2 separate regions of the Homo sapiens genome follow, and region 2 is linked to region 1. Evidence: promoter capture Hi-C in 16 types of primary human blood cells and fetal thymus (Javierre and others, 2016). All regions are on one chromosome and are shown on one strand. The core of a region is centred on a gene start or on the middle of the fragment in contact, and the rest is flanking DNA. Distances in the headings are between cores, read along the strand shown.

Region 1 (6,164 bases), core at 593-3,092:
AAAGCTAGTATTTCCAGAAAGTACCTTCTGAGGACCTAGAGCTATCTGTTGTTTAGTGGAAGGTCAATACACAAGTTTATATTTCTTCAGAGATGAGCGAAAGATACAAGGAAGCCAGGTCCCAGTGGGTCACACACAGCTTTTCAAGCACGACACACATTACGGAAACATAAGACTGTGGCATTTCACACTCATCTAACTTCTCATTTGCAGACACCTGCCATTTAGCAAAATAAAGTGGGAGTCCAGAAAAAGGAGTACTTGGTAGTAGAAGACAGAGCTGCCTGTTGTATTTCAAAAAGTTAAGCCTTCAAAAACTTTTCAGACATGTGGGCGACTTTTTTTTTTTTTTTTTTTTTTTTTTTTTTTGAGACGGAGACTTACTCTGTTGCCCAGGCTGGAGTGCAGTGGCGAGATCTCGGCTCACTGCAACCTCTGCCTCCCAGGTTCAAGCGATTCTCCTGCCTCAGCCTCCCGAGTAGCTGGGATTACAGGAGCGTGTCACCACGCCCAGCTAATTTTTGTATAAAATTCTTCCTTGACCACCCTCTCCACCTCGAAAAAAAGTAAAGCCTTACTAAGCATGACACTAATGCAAACTCAATGCATACGCTACACAAACATATAACTCCTTATTTGGAGCTAATAATATTCCAAGCCAAGGAAACCTACAAATAATTTCGCTATAGTCATAGGAGAGTGTGAAGATACAAGATAGCAACTTGATATATAACTCACATCAAGAAAACTTTCACCAGCGTTTAAGGGAAAGGAGTTGTAGATGTGGGTCATTTAATACCCACTTCCAAATTCACTGAAGTGGACAGCGCCCTACACACAAGGTGAGACCTACAGGCATCATTGCTTTGAAGCTGCATTTAAGCTCTGAAGCTCCAATATTTATAGAAGACTTTTAAAACTTTGTAAGAAATCACAAAGTTCCCCTTCTTTAAAACAGATCAGTGCTGGGAAGGCTCAAAAGTCACTTTCACTCCCTTACCAAATCATCAAAAAGCCCGGAGTGGCAGGGCCGGGAGCCGAGCATCTCGCGCGCAGCCCCAGCCTGCACAGGTGCGGAGCTCGGGGGCGGCTGGGGGCTCTCGCCCCGCCGCGCGCAGCCTGGAGGCGGCCCCTGCCCTCTTGCGCCTCACCGCCGAGGCCCATGTCCCCTGAGCCACGGACACGGTTCAACAGACACATAAACACGTCTCGCAAATGTGGGGACAAACTGTTCCACCGTTAGGTATAGGGTGGTTTGCTTGGTGGTCACGGATTCTTTCTCAAAACGTGAAGCTTCCAGGAGCACTCCTGTCTTGGCAAAGCCCCTGCGCTGCCGATGAACCCCCCGGGAGGTGGGATGCGGCCGCTGAGCTGAGCACGACCCTCTGCCCTCGCCGTGAGGTGATGCTGAGGGAACCGCCAGCGGCCCGGCCCCTCTGCCAAGGGCGAATTTCCGCGGGCCGGCAGCGAGCCAGGCGCCTCAGGCCCCACGGCGACCTGGCCCGGGCTCTGCCCCCAGACCTTCCGCCGTGGCTGGGTGTGGGTGGCAAAGCCAAAACAGCCCTCTGAGGAGGGGAGCGACGCCCTCGCACCAGCCTTCTCAGGGCGGCGACGCCCCGGGTTGCTCCCCACCGGGTCGGAGTCCGGGGGGTATGAGGGACTCCCACTCCCCGCCCCCACCCCTCTCCGCAGCGCGCCTCCCGCACCTGCGCCGCCGCTTCCGGCCCCGCTGGCCTCCGACACTGCCCGCTGCGCCCGCAACCACGGGAGCACGTCCTTCCCGAGGTCGAAGTCGGCGACCAGGCGAAGAGCCATCGCCCGGACACGACCACCGGGCGGCTCTGGGGCCCCGCACCGCGGGCATTCCCGGCCCCGCGTGGCCGCCTCGCCCTCGCGTCCCCGCTCCCGCCCCCTCTTTCCTCTCCCCCGCCCCCTGCTGCTTTCGGTTCTGCAGCGCCCTGGCCTGAGAAGCTCCGGCACCAGCTCCTCCCGGCCGGCGGCCCGCACCTGAGCCGGAGCCGGAGCCGGGCACGGCGGGTAGCGGTGGGGCGGGGTGGACCAGGCGCCAGGACCAGGCCCGCCGGGGCGGGAGGCCTCCGCGCGCACCTTCGGGGCTGAGGATAGAGGGCGCAAAGACGTGGGCGCTTCAGGGCCTTGGCGAGGCCGCTAGCCCAGTGGCTTCCAAACCTGGAGGGTCGGCCTATTTTCTTTATTCTACAAGTGCCTCCACTGTGCAGCAAAGTGTGGAAACCACTTGGCTTGAGAGAGCTGGGTCCTCTGGAGCAGTTCAGGGTCACCACAGAAGTAGGCCGTCTCTTGGGCCTATTCGCCCCAGCTTCGAGGTGGTGGTGCTTTATTAGTGTTATTAAGGTAATGAGTAGCAACTGGGAGCGTATGACGAAGGTGATCCCATTGTAAGAGAAACGCTAAAAGGGGTTAATGCGCTTGATACAAACAGCGTCCTTTTTGCCTTTTAACTCTAGTACATCTCATTTGATGCCTTGAGACATGAAAACTGAATCTTAAGTCTCCACGCAAACCCTCTGCCTCCCACCAGGGTCTAACAGAGCACTCTGGAAGGTGCTCGACAATTACTGAAGAATGAGTGAATACAGTAATAAAGAATGCTTTTTCACATGCTTCCGAAATTAAGGTCTGAAAACTACTTGTATTGACGTCATCTGGGGCACTATTTTACAATGCAGACTCCTGATCTCTACACCTGGACAAGACCAGAAACGTGCATTTTACCCAGAGCCTCGGGTGATTCTTAGGCTTACTAAGTTTGAAAACTACTCCAACCAAATGTAAAAGAAAGTCTTGAATTTTTTTCCCTCCTAGAGACATGTTTCTCCAACTGAGGTAATGGATGATTTCAGGTAGAACTCCATTACTCACCACCATATACAGAGGAAAGTCCTCCCACCCGGGAAGTGCATGCAAATTTAAGATAAATGCCTAATGAAGCTGCTAATATTATCAGTGAATAAAAGGAAGGCCACTGGAGCCCCCAAGGAGCTAATGCAACTATTTCATATCAAATAAGCTTGTTGCCTTTGTCATACAGAAACACTGTTGGCCAATTTTTTAAAGTCAGTACATTTCCATTGTTTTTATTTTTGCAGTTAACTTCTATTTTTGCCAGGCAGGACTGATTTTATAGTCAAGCAGTGATGATATAAAAAATTCTCTTCAAATTAAGTGAAAAAGCCAATGTAAAGAAGGTGAGAAACAATAAGATAATGATAGAAAGATGTGGCCAAAATCATGAGGGTGCTATATGAAGGCATGTGTATCAGTTAGGATTAGATTCTCCAGAAGTTAATAAGAACTCAGATTAACAGTAAATTAAACACACAAGTTTTATTCTGTCACCTAGCTGGACGTAGGCAGAATAAAGCTCTTAGGGCAGGTTCCTGAATTTATCAGGGACCCAGGCTCCTTCCAGTTCTTTGCTCCACCTGATCCTGAGTGTACCCTTGTCCTCATGATCAAAGAGGGCTGCAGAAGCTTCAGCCTTCACGTCTGCATTCCAGAAATCAGAATGGAAGAAGAGGAATAAAAAGAGGATGCTACCTCTCTTTTAAGGATACTTCCCGGAAGTTCTACACAACATTTCTACGTATGTTTCACTCACCAGAATTTAGTCACATGGCCAAATGTAGCTTTCAAGGGAGGCAAGGAAATATACCTGGCCATTGCTGTGCCCAGATAAAAATCAGGACGGTATTACTGAAGAAGGTGGGGAAAGTAGATATTCAGAAGCAATTAGAGATCTCTGTCAGAGTATGATACCCGATTCCGGCCACTGAGTTGTAAGGAAACCTCTGCTATGACAGATTTCTCTATTCTTAAAACAAGAGACATGGGAAAAGATGGTCCCTTTCAGTCTTTAACTATTTCGGGATCTAGATATGATTGCTGGAATTTCAGCCATCTAGCACACTGAAAATGGAGTCATTGGAGTCAGGAGAGTCCAGAGAACTGCAGAGAAGAGAAACCTTGGTAAATTATTTTTGGAGCCATCCTCTGCCCTTTCTGATATTAGAGATGTTGAATTTCCTATTGTTTAAATGATATTCAGTCAGACTTTTATTTTACTTGCAACCAAGGGTTTCAATTTTAAGGAGTGATCATTTCAAAATTTAGGGCACAGGCCAAAGAGCACTATAATAATAGGTTTGTGTTTGAACACTTATTAGAACACATTCTATATTTTGTATTGTTAACATAAAATGAAGTTATGTTGAGGGAGTAGGCTTACAGGAAACAGCTCAGATAAGCAAAAAGAGTTTGTTGCAAAGCCCTGAAAACCTAAGGGCCTCTGGATTAGATCACCTGAAAGTCATTCTACGTATCATGCAAGCCAGTTTGAGTTGGGTTTTCTGTTACTTGTGCCAAAAGCATCTTAAATCAGGGATTTTCAAACTTTAATGAGCATTCAAATCACCTAAGGATCTTGATAAAAGGTAGATTCTGATTCAGCAGGGTGAGGTGGTGCTGAAGAGTCTACATTTTAACGAGTTTCCAGGTCATGCCAAAGCTGCTGGTCCACAGATGACATTTTGAATAGCAACATTCTGCTACTTAATGTGAGGAGCTTTCCACCTCTGTATTGCTGCCTTACTGTCCACCATAGAGAGGGCCAGGTGAGGAAATGCATGAAATGGCTAGCTTTGAAGATATACCAGAGCTAAAGGTCGGTATGTGAGGAGAAATCTAAAATGGAGGTAAATATTGATTCCAGAAGTTTGAACCACGCCATGAGTCACAAGTTTTAGTAGCAAGCCACAGAGAATCAGCTAAAGGGAGGAGATAAAGGTGCTTACACTATAGTAGAGATGCAAGCACAAGGCAAGAAAAGAGGTGAAGCAATGCAGAGAATCAGAATCTTCAAAATTATGATTCTTGTGCACACCGAAGTTTGGGGAGCACTGGTCTAGCTATCTGGTGCTTTAAATGGAGGTGGTTTTCTTTCCTTCTCTTCGTGACTGGATTACTGAGTTTCAAGCCTGTGTTGATTTGTTGCAGAGCAGAGACCTCACCAAGATGCAGTAGGCAAGAGGGGAGAGGAATATGAGTCCTCCGAAACACACACTCTGTGCACAGCACAACACAGTGATCCTAATAAAATAAATAGGCATCCTAAATCAAGGTGATCTACTTTACATATGTTCACTAACTTTTCAGTGTTCTTCTTAGTATAATTTCAAGAATAGTATTAAAGATTTATACAAGAGAAGATGAAAACAGTTGTGGTTTTTCTAGAGAATTTTTAAAACTACATAAGATGTTCAAGATGAATAATTCCTGAATTGCCAATTCCAAGTGCTGTTATAATAAAGATGTCTTTGCAGTCATTTCATAGCAGTTTTTTATTCTGTCCTAAAAATGAAGCACATTGACACCCTACATATTTTCTTCATCTAACAGTTTTATTTAGATATTTTTTTAAAATAGAAGATATAGTCCTATTTCTTAACAGTTACAAGTGGAATTCCAAGGACTTTCCCAACTCCTAACTGTTAACAATAGTTTTCTGTGGGGAACGTAACTCAGTGAAGGTTGTTTTTTGTTTTTGTTTTTGTTTTTGTTTAACGTTAGGCACATGTTAGCTTTTCAATTTTAAAAACTAGCTTAATTTTTAAAAATGTATCTTCACTCAGATTTTGACTATAAAATTATTGTTCAGCCTTTAAGGGACCATCTTCCTGACAACTTCGGCTAATTTTTGTCCTGTGTAGTTACATAGATGGCTACATGCTCAGGGCCATCATATATTGTTGTTTTTTGTTTTTTTTTTGAGACAGGGTCTCACTCAGTTGCCCAGGCTTGAGCATAGTGGCGCGATCTCGGCTCACTGTAACCTCCGCTTCCTGGGTTCAAACGATTCTCCTGCCTTAGCCACCTGAGTAGCTGGGATTACAGGCACGCGCCACCACACCCAATTAATTTTTGTATTTTTAGTAGAGACAGGGTTTCGCCATGTTGGTCAGGCTGGTCACGAACTCATATTGTTTTTATTTGTTTTCTTAGAAAGCTGACACTGAGTTTAGCAATGATTAATAGAATAACTCTTTAAATCTGCTTGGTTATTATTTATGATGTTAGAGTGAAAGCACTCATCCTGAAATTTGTTGAAAAGAAGACTGACACAGATTTTT
Region 2 (5,975 bases), core at 1,509-4,008, 520 kb after region 1:
GAGGTCAGGAGTTCGAGACCAGCCTGGCAACATGGTGAAACTCCATCTCTATTAAAAATACAAAAATTAGTCGGGCATGGTGGTGGGCACGGTGGCAGGCACCTGTAATCCCAGCTGCTCAGGAGGCTGAGGCATGAGCATTGCTTGAACCCGGGAGGCGAAGGTTTCAGTTAGCCAAGAACCACACTCCAGCCTGGGCAGTGGAGCCCAACACAGTCTCAAAAAAAAAAAGAAAAAAGAAAATGTATTTAGAGTAACCTATGTGATAAAATTATAAAATGAAATTATTTGCTCTGATGTTTTCCCTGAACCTTTTAAAAAAAATTTCATGTGATGCTGTTCTCCACACTGCAGACATGATTCAACAAGACTGTTTTTCAGTGTACATTCCCCCCCCCCACACACACACACAGAGGAATATAGCAGTCTTTTTTATTTATTTTTTCAAGTTTCTACACACAACATTGAACATGTAATTTACCCTTTTTTTTTTTTTTTTTTTTTTTTTTCAGACGGAGTCCCACTCTGTCGCCCAGGCTGGAGTGCAGTGGCGCGATCTCGGCTCACTTCAAGCTCTGCCTCCCGGGTTCACGCCATTCTCTTGCCTCAGCCTCCCCAGTACCTGGGACTACAGGCACCAGCCACCATGCCTGGCTGATTTCTTTTTGTATTTTTAGTAGAGACGGGGTTTCACCGTGTTAGCCAGGATGGCTACTATCTCCTGACCTCGTGATCCGCCCACCTCAGCCTCCCAAAGTGCTGGGATTACAGGCGTGAGCCACCGCGCCCGGCGTAATTAACTCTTTTAAAATTCACCAGTTTCTAGTTGCTGTCTTCTCTTTTGCCTTTTGGCATTCTAGAAATAATGTAATATCAGATGCTGGATAGAGTAATTGGCAAGGTAGCTAGATGTAAAAGGAGTGCTTTTGGGAGGACAATGAGAATGTCCTGATTTCCTATTTCTGTCTCTAGATGGGCTTTCTTGGTATTGATATTCCTTTCTTCATGTAATTAGGAAGACCTTAATTCACTATTCCAGACTGAGAGTTTAAAAATGTCTGTAAATCAGTGGTTGAAATCTGTTGGCTCTCAAGCTTAAACTTCTTTCCTTTTAGCTTCTTGCACTTCCTGTTTCTGGCTTTTTGGTTTCCTTACGCTTAACAATTGTAAAATTTCTAGTGAAAGTTTGATACATATTTTGGTACAGATTATTTCTTTCCCAAAACAGAATATTTTGTTTGGAGATAAATGAGGAAATAACATTTGAGAAATTAAGTTGGTAGTTAATAACTAGTATCTTAGCACTCTTCAGGACCTCAAGTAGTGAAATGTATACCATGAAAGTTAAAGTATATTAAAATCCTTCATCTCTAGAAAAGATAAAAATTTCCCACCTCTTTTTTTTTACATTATTGAATTATTATTATTCAACTTTAGTTGAAATTAATCAATGCAACTTTACTCCCCCTAGAGGAAAGTGTTAAAAGTTTACAAGAAACATTTTTTTTACCATATTTTAATCACATTTTTGTCCTCTAAAGAATAAATGTACCTAGAGTAGATTCTTCTGTTCATTGTTAGAAGTTATATTTAATGAAATATTTTATAAAATTTGAGGTTGCTACGAATGCCAAAACTATTGTTTTTAGAAAATGTGGGAAGTGGCCAGACACCGTGGCTCACGCCTGTAATCCCAGCACTTTGGGAGGCTTAGGTGGGCAGATCACAAGTTCAGGAGTTCGAGACCAACCTGGTCAACATGGTGAAACCCCGTCTCTACAAAAATTTAAAGATTAGCTGGGCGTGGTGGTGGGCGCCTATAGTCCCAGCTACTTGGGAGGCTGAGGCAGGAGAATCACTTGAACCTGGGAGGCGGAGGTTGCAGTGAGCTGAGATCGCACCATTGCACTCCAGCCTGAGTAACAGAGCAAGACTCCGTCTCAAAAAACAAAATGTGGGAAGTATATGAGTCCTTAAAAATACACTAGAAATACTGCAATATAAACAAGCAAACTGATCTCTATCTGGGTTTAATCTTTTAGTGTTACTTCTCCTCTTGAAGTCTGATTATATAAAGGTTTAGTGTTTCATTAATTTTGTTGCCATCATTAACTCAACTGTTCTGTTTTGGGGCTGGGCGCAGTGGTTCACACCTGTAATCCCAGCACTTTGGGAGGTAGAGGCCGGTGGATCACCTGAGGTCAGGAGTTAGAGACCAGCCTGGCCAACATGGTGAAACCCCGTCTCTACTAAAAATAAAAAAATTAGCCAGGCATGGTGGCAGGTGCCTGTAGTCCGAGCTACTCAGGAGGCTGAGTGCTTCAGTTTTGTAATATTTGCTTTATCTGGAAAAAAAAAAAAAGTTAAATGGGTCCTTTGGAGAAATGCTGGATTAAAATATCAGAAAAGTAACTAAATCAGATATTAAACGTTAAATATGTAAGGAAGAGTCTTTTTTGGGATAAGACTAGCACTATATGGTCTTTCAAAGAGATTCAAATCTCAGCTGTCATATTCTTTTTTAATGATCATAAGTTGGACAATGATTACTATGAACAAGTTGATATCCATTTGTCTTTTAGCATTAGTATATTGCAGCTGTGTAGACTGACAACTAAGTACTTTTGCTGACATGTTTTAGTATATTTTTGAACATAGGTTGACTAATACTTGTTACAGAAAGTTCTCAACTTGTACAGTTTCATAACCATGTAACTTCTTATGATATCTGTTCAGTGTATATGCTAACTAATTTTAAGATAGAATTTTAGTGTCTTAGAGTTGTGTGTATAAATATATTAGCTGTGCACAGATCTATATATTCCATTTATAAAACATGATAAATATATTCACCAATTTTTATTTTTAGTGTCATTAAAATTGTGTGTGTATATAGAGATATATATACAACTTTATATACACACATTTTATTTATTAAATGTGATCTATATATTTACTAATTTTTTTTTTTTTTATAGAGTCATTTGCCCTGGCTCCATAGTTCCCACCCAGGATTAGAAAAAATAAGTGCTATAGTATGGGAAGGTAATGATTGTAAGAAAGCAGACATGTCTGTACTTGAAATCAGTGGAATGATAATGAACAGAGTGAGTTTTTAAATTTTATTCTTGTAGTTCAAGGGTAAGACTTAGTAATTATATATAAGATAATTACTGGAATATTATATTAGTAACCTTCTGACCTCATTTCTTCACCCTGAAAAAAAAGTTACATGTGTGTATTTGTTTCTGTCTGTAATTTAAACAGTGATTTGTCACCAAACCACTCTCATCTTCTAGTGTTTTCACTTATCTGACCAAGAATAGATGATACGGTCTATAATTTTTCTCTTTTATCTTTTTCTTTCTTTTGAAATTCAGGAGCTTGTTAGATATATACAGGTGTTAATAAAGACTTTTCTTTGGACTAGAGATTGTTGTTACAAGAACTTTAAAAATAAAAAAATAATTAAAAAGACTTATTTTTCTGTATCATTCTTACTGGTTCATTTGTTTAATAGGACTTAAGACATGAAAAAATCAAACTAGTAAATTTGCATTCATACTTGCTTACCTACTTAAATATATAGAAGTAATGCAGATAGTGGTAAAAGTCTTGAGTAGTTCAAAGAAGTCTAATTGAAATACTGTGGATTAAAATTTTATTTTCTATTATTTCTTTTTTCAGATAATTACTGATTTTTAAAATGTGTTGATTGGCCGGGCGCGGTGGCTCACGCCTGTAATCCCAGCACTTTGGGAGGCTGAGGCGGGCGGATCACAAGGTCAGGAGATCGAGACCATCCTGGCTAACATGGTGAAACCCCGTCTCTACTAAAAATACAAAAAAATTAGCCAGGCGTGGTGAAACCCTGTCTCTACTAAAAATACAAAAAATTAGCCGGGCGTGGTGGCGGGCGCCTGTAGTCCCAGCTACTCGGGAGGCTGAGGCAGGAGAATGGCATTAACCTGGGAGGCGGAGCTTGCAGTGAGCCAAGATCACGCCACTGCACTCCAGCCTGGGCGACAGAGCGAGACTCCGTCTCAAAAAATAAATAAATAAAAATAAAATAAAATAAAATGTGTTGATTTCTCTGGACTTGTTTTTAACTTGCAATTTCTAAATTTCTTTGGTGCATTATTGTGCTTGAACTCTTCTCCACACTTTGTGTAAGACAGGAATTATAATAACTGGGTCTAGAAATTGATAATACTCCCTATAACATATCTCAGTGTGAGCAATTAAAAGCAGTTGACGGGGAAGTCTCTGGAATCTTGGATCTAGTTTGTGCTCTGTAACTTAATTACCTGTGAATTGGCAGATCACTTAACTTACAATGGTCTCATTTATCTAATATATATTATAAAAAGTTGGCTACATGATAGTTAAGATCTCTTTTAGTTCTGCCAGTCTAGCATACTGGAAGCTTTTATATTGTCCCATTATCTAATTTCCTTTTTTAAAATAATTCCCTCACCTTTTTCCCTTTCTGTTTAATTTCTTCTTCCTTCTATCATCTCTCTTCTAAAATGCTTTTAGAGTTTAAGGAGACACTTATTTATATATTGGACTATTCAAAGAGAAATGTAAGCGGCTGGGTGTGTTGGCTTATGCCTGTAATCTCAACACTTTGGGAGCTAGAGGAGGGATGATCGCTTGAGCCCAGGAGTTAAAGACCAGCCTGAGCAACATAGTGAAACCCTGTCTTTACATCTCTACAAAACCCAAAAAATTAGCTGGGGGCGGTGGTGTATACCTGTAGTCCCAGCTACTAGGAATGCTGAGTTGGGAGGGATCACTTGAGCCCATTATTGTGCCACTGTACTCCAGCCTGGGCAATAGAGTGAGACCCTGTCTCAAAAAAAAAAAAAAAAAAAGAAAACAGAAAGAAAACCTCAAGTTACAAATGTACAAACGTATGAAATAAGTGTAATGCTGAGTTTTTTCTTCAATGAACTGAATTTCAGTGGATATGAGATCTCATTCTCTTTAATATTGCAGTATTTATGAATATTTCTAACTTGAAATAATGAAATACATAAATTTTTTTCAAGATCTGGATGACAGTCCTTTTGCCATCTACTTAGTAAATTAGCGATCTGATAATTGTTTTTAAGATCTGAAGAATTAATGACATTTTATATGTAGTAGGCTCTCAAACTTGAATGGGATTCAAATTACTCAGAATGAGTATATTTTAACAAATGATTTCATATTGCTATAAATAATTCTACTGTAGATAAAATTTATGGTATAATTTTATTTTTCTTTTCTCTCTCTTCCCCTGGCTCCCTCAAGGTGAACAGCCATATACCAGGAATAGGATACCAGATTTTTGGAAATGCAGTCTCTCTCATACTGGGTTTAACTCCATTTGTTTTCCGACTTTCTCAAGCTACAGACTTGGAACAACTCACAGCACATTCTGCTTCAGAACTTTATGTGATTGCATTTGGTTCTAATGAAGATGTCATAGTTCTTTCTATGGTTATAATAAGTTTTGTGGTTCGCGTGTCTCTTGTGTGGATTTTCTTTTTTTTGCTCTGTGTAGCAGAAAGAACTTATAAACAGGTGGGTATAATGTAGACTTCCGAATAAGAATATTTTATCGTTTTCATAATATTAAAAGTATTCCTGAAGTACTTTATTATTTCATTATATCATTTTTACCTAATTATTTTTTATTTTGCTTTTATAGTACCTAACCAAATAAAATCTTAACAATTCATATTTTGTTAATTTTGTTTTTCTGTGGTAATCTACTTGAAAATTAATCCTCATCTTAATCTTTTTTAGCGATTACTTTTTGCAAAACTCTTTGGACATTTAACATCTGCAAGGAGGGCTCGAAAATCTGAGGTTCCTCATTTCCGGTTGAAGAAAGTACAGAATATAAAAATGTGGCTATCTCTCCGTTCCTATCTTAAGGTAGAATGGGAGTGATAAAAGTAGCTTTAACATGCTGGCCCTTTCTG

The links. Contacts are between HindIII fragments. The CHiCAGO score rates a contact against its expected background, and 5 or more counts as called.
Region 2: a contact is called between a fragment that was not itself captured here and the fragment with the promoter of GSAP in region 1, in 1 of 17 cell types (total B cells). The highest score is 5.3, in total B cells.

Annotation. Positions count from the first base shown.
Region 1 is chr7:77,414,507-77,420,670 of GRCh38, forward strand. It overlaps GSAP (gamma-secretase activating protein), which reads right to left and starts at 1,843. Exons shown (of 31, transcript NM_017439.4): 1 at 1,707-1,843. The coding sequence starts at 1,815. It overlaps LOC101927243 (a long non-coding RNA gene), which reads left to right and starts at 692. Exons shown (of 5, transcript NR_110073.1): 1 at 692-842. RefSeq lists silencers at 1,009-1,298, 1,359-1,568, 1,789-2,138. The HindIII fragment of the contact is 1,753 bases long and covers 1,292-3,044 here.
Region 2 is chr7:77,934,732-77,940,706 of GRCh38, forward strand. It overlaps PHTF2 (putative homeodomain transcription factor 2), which reads left to right. Exons shown (of 19, transcript NM_001395272.1): 12 at 2,979-3,107; 13 at 5,299-5,571; 14 at 5,797-5,928. Among named protein-coding and RNA genes, the nearest start is that of DDX3ILA1, 53 kb to the right of the region's middle. The HindIII fragment of the contact is 3,332 bases long and covers 1,093-4,424 here.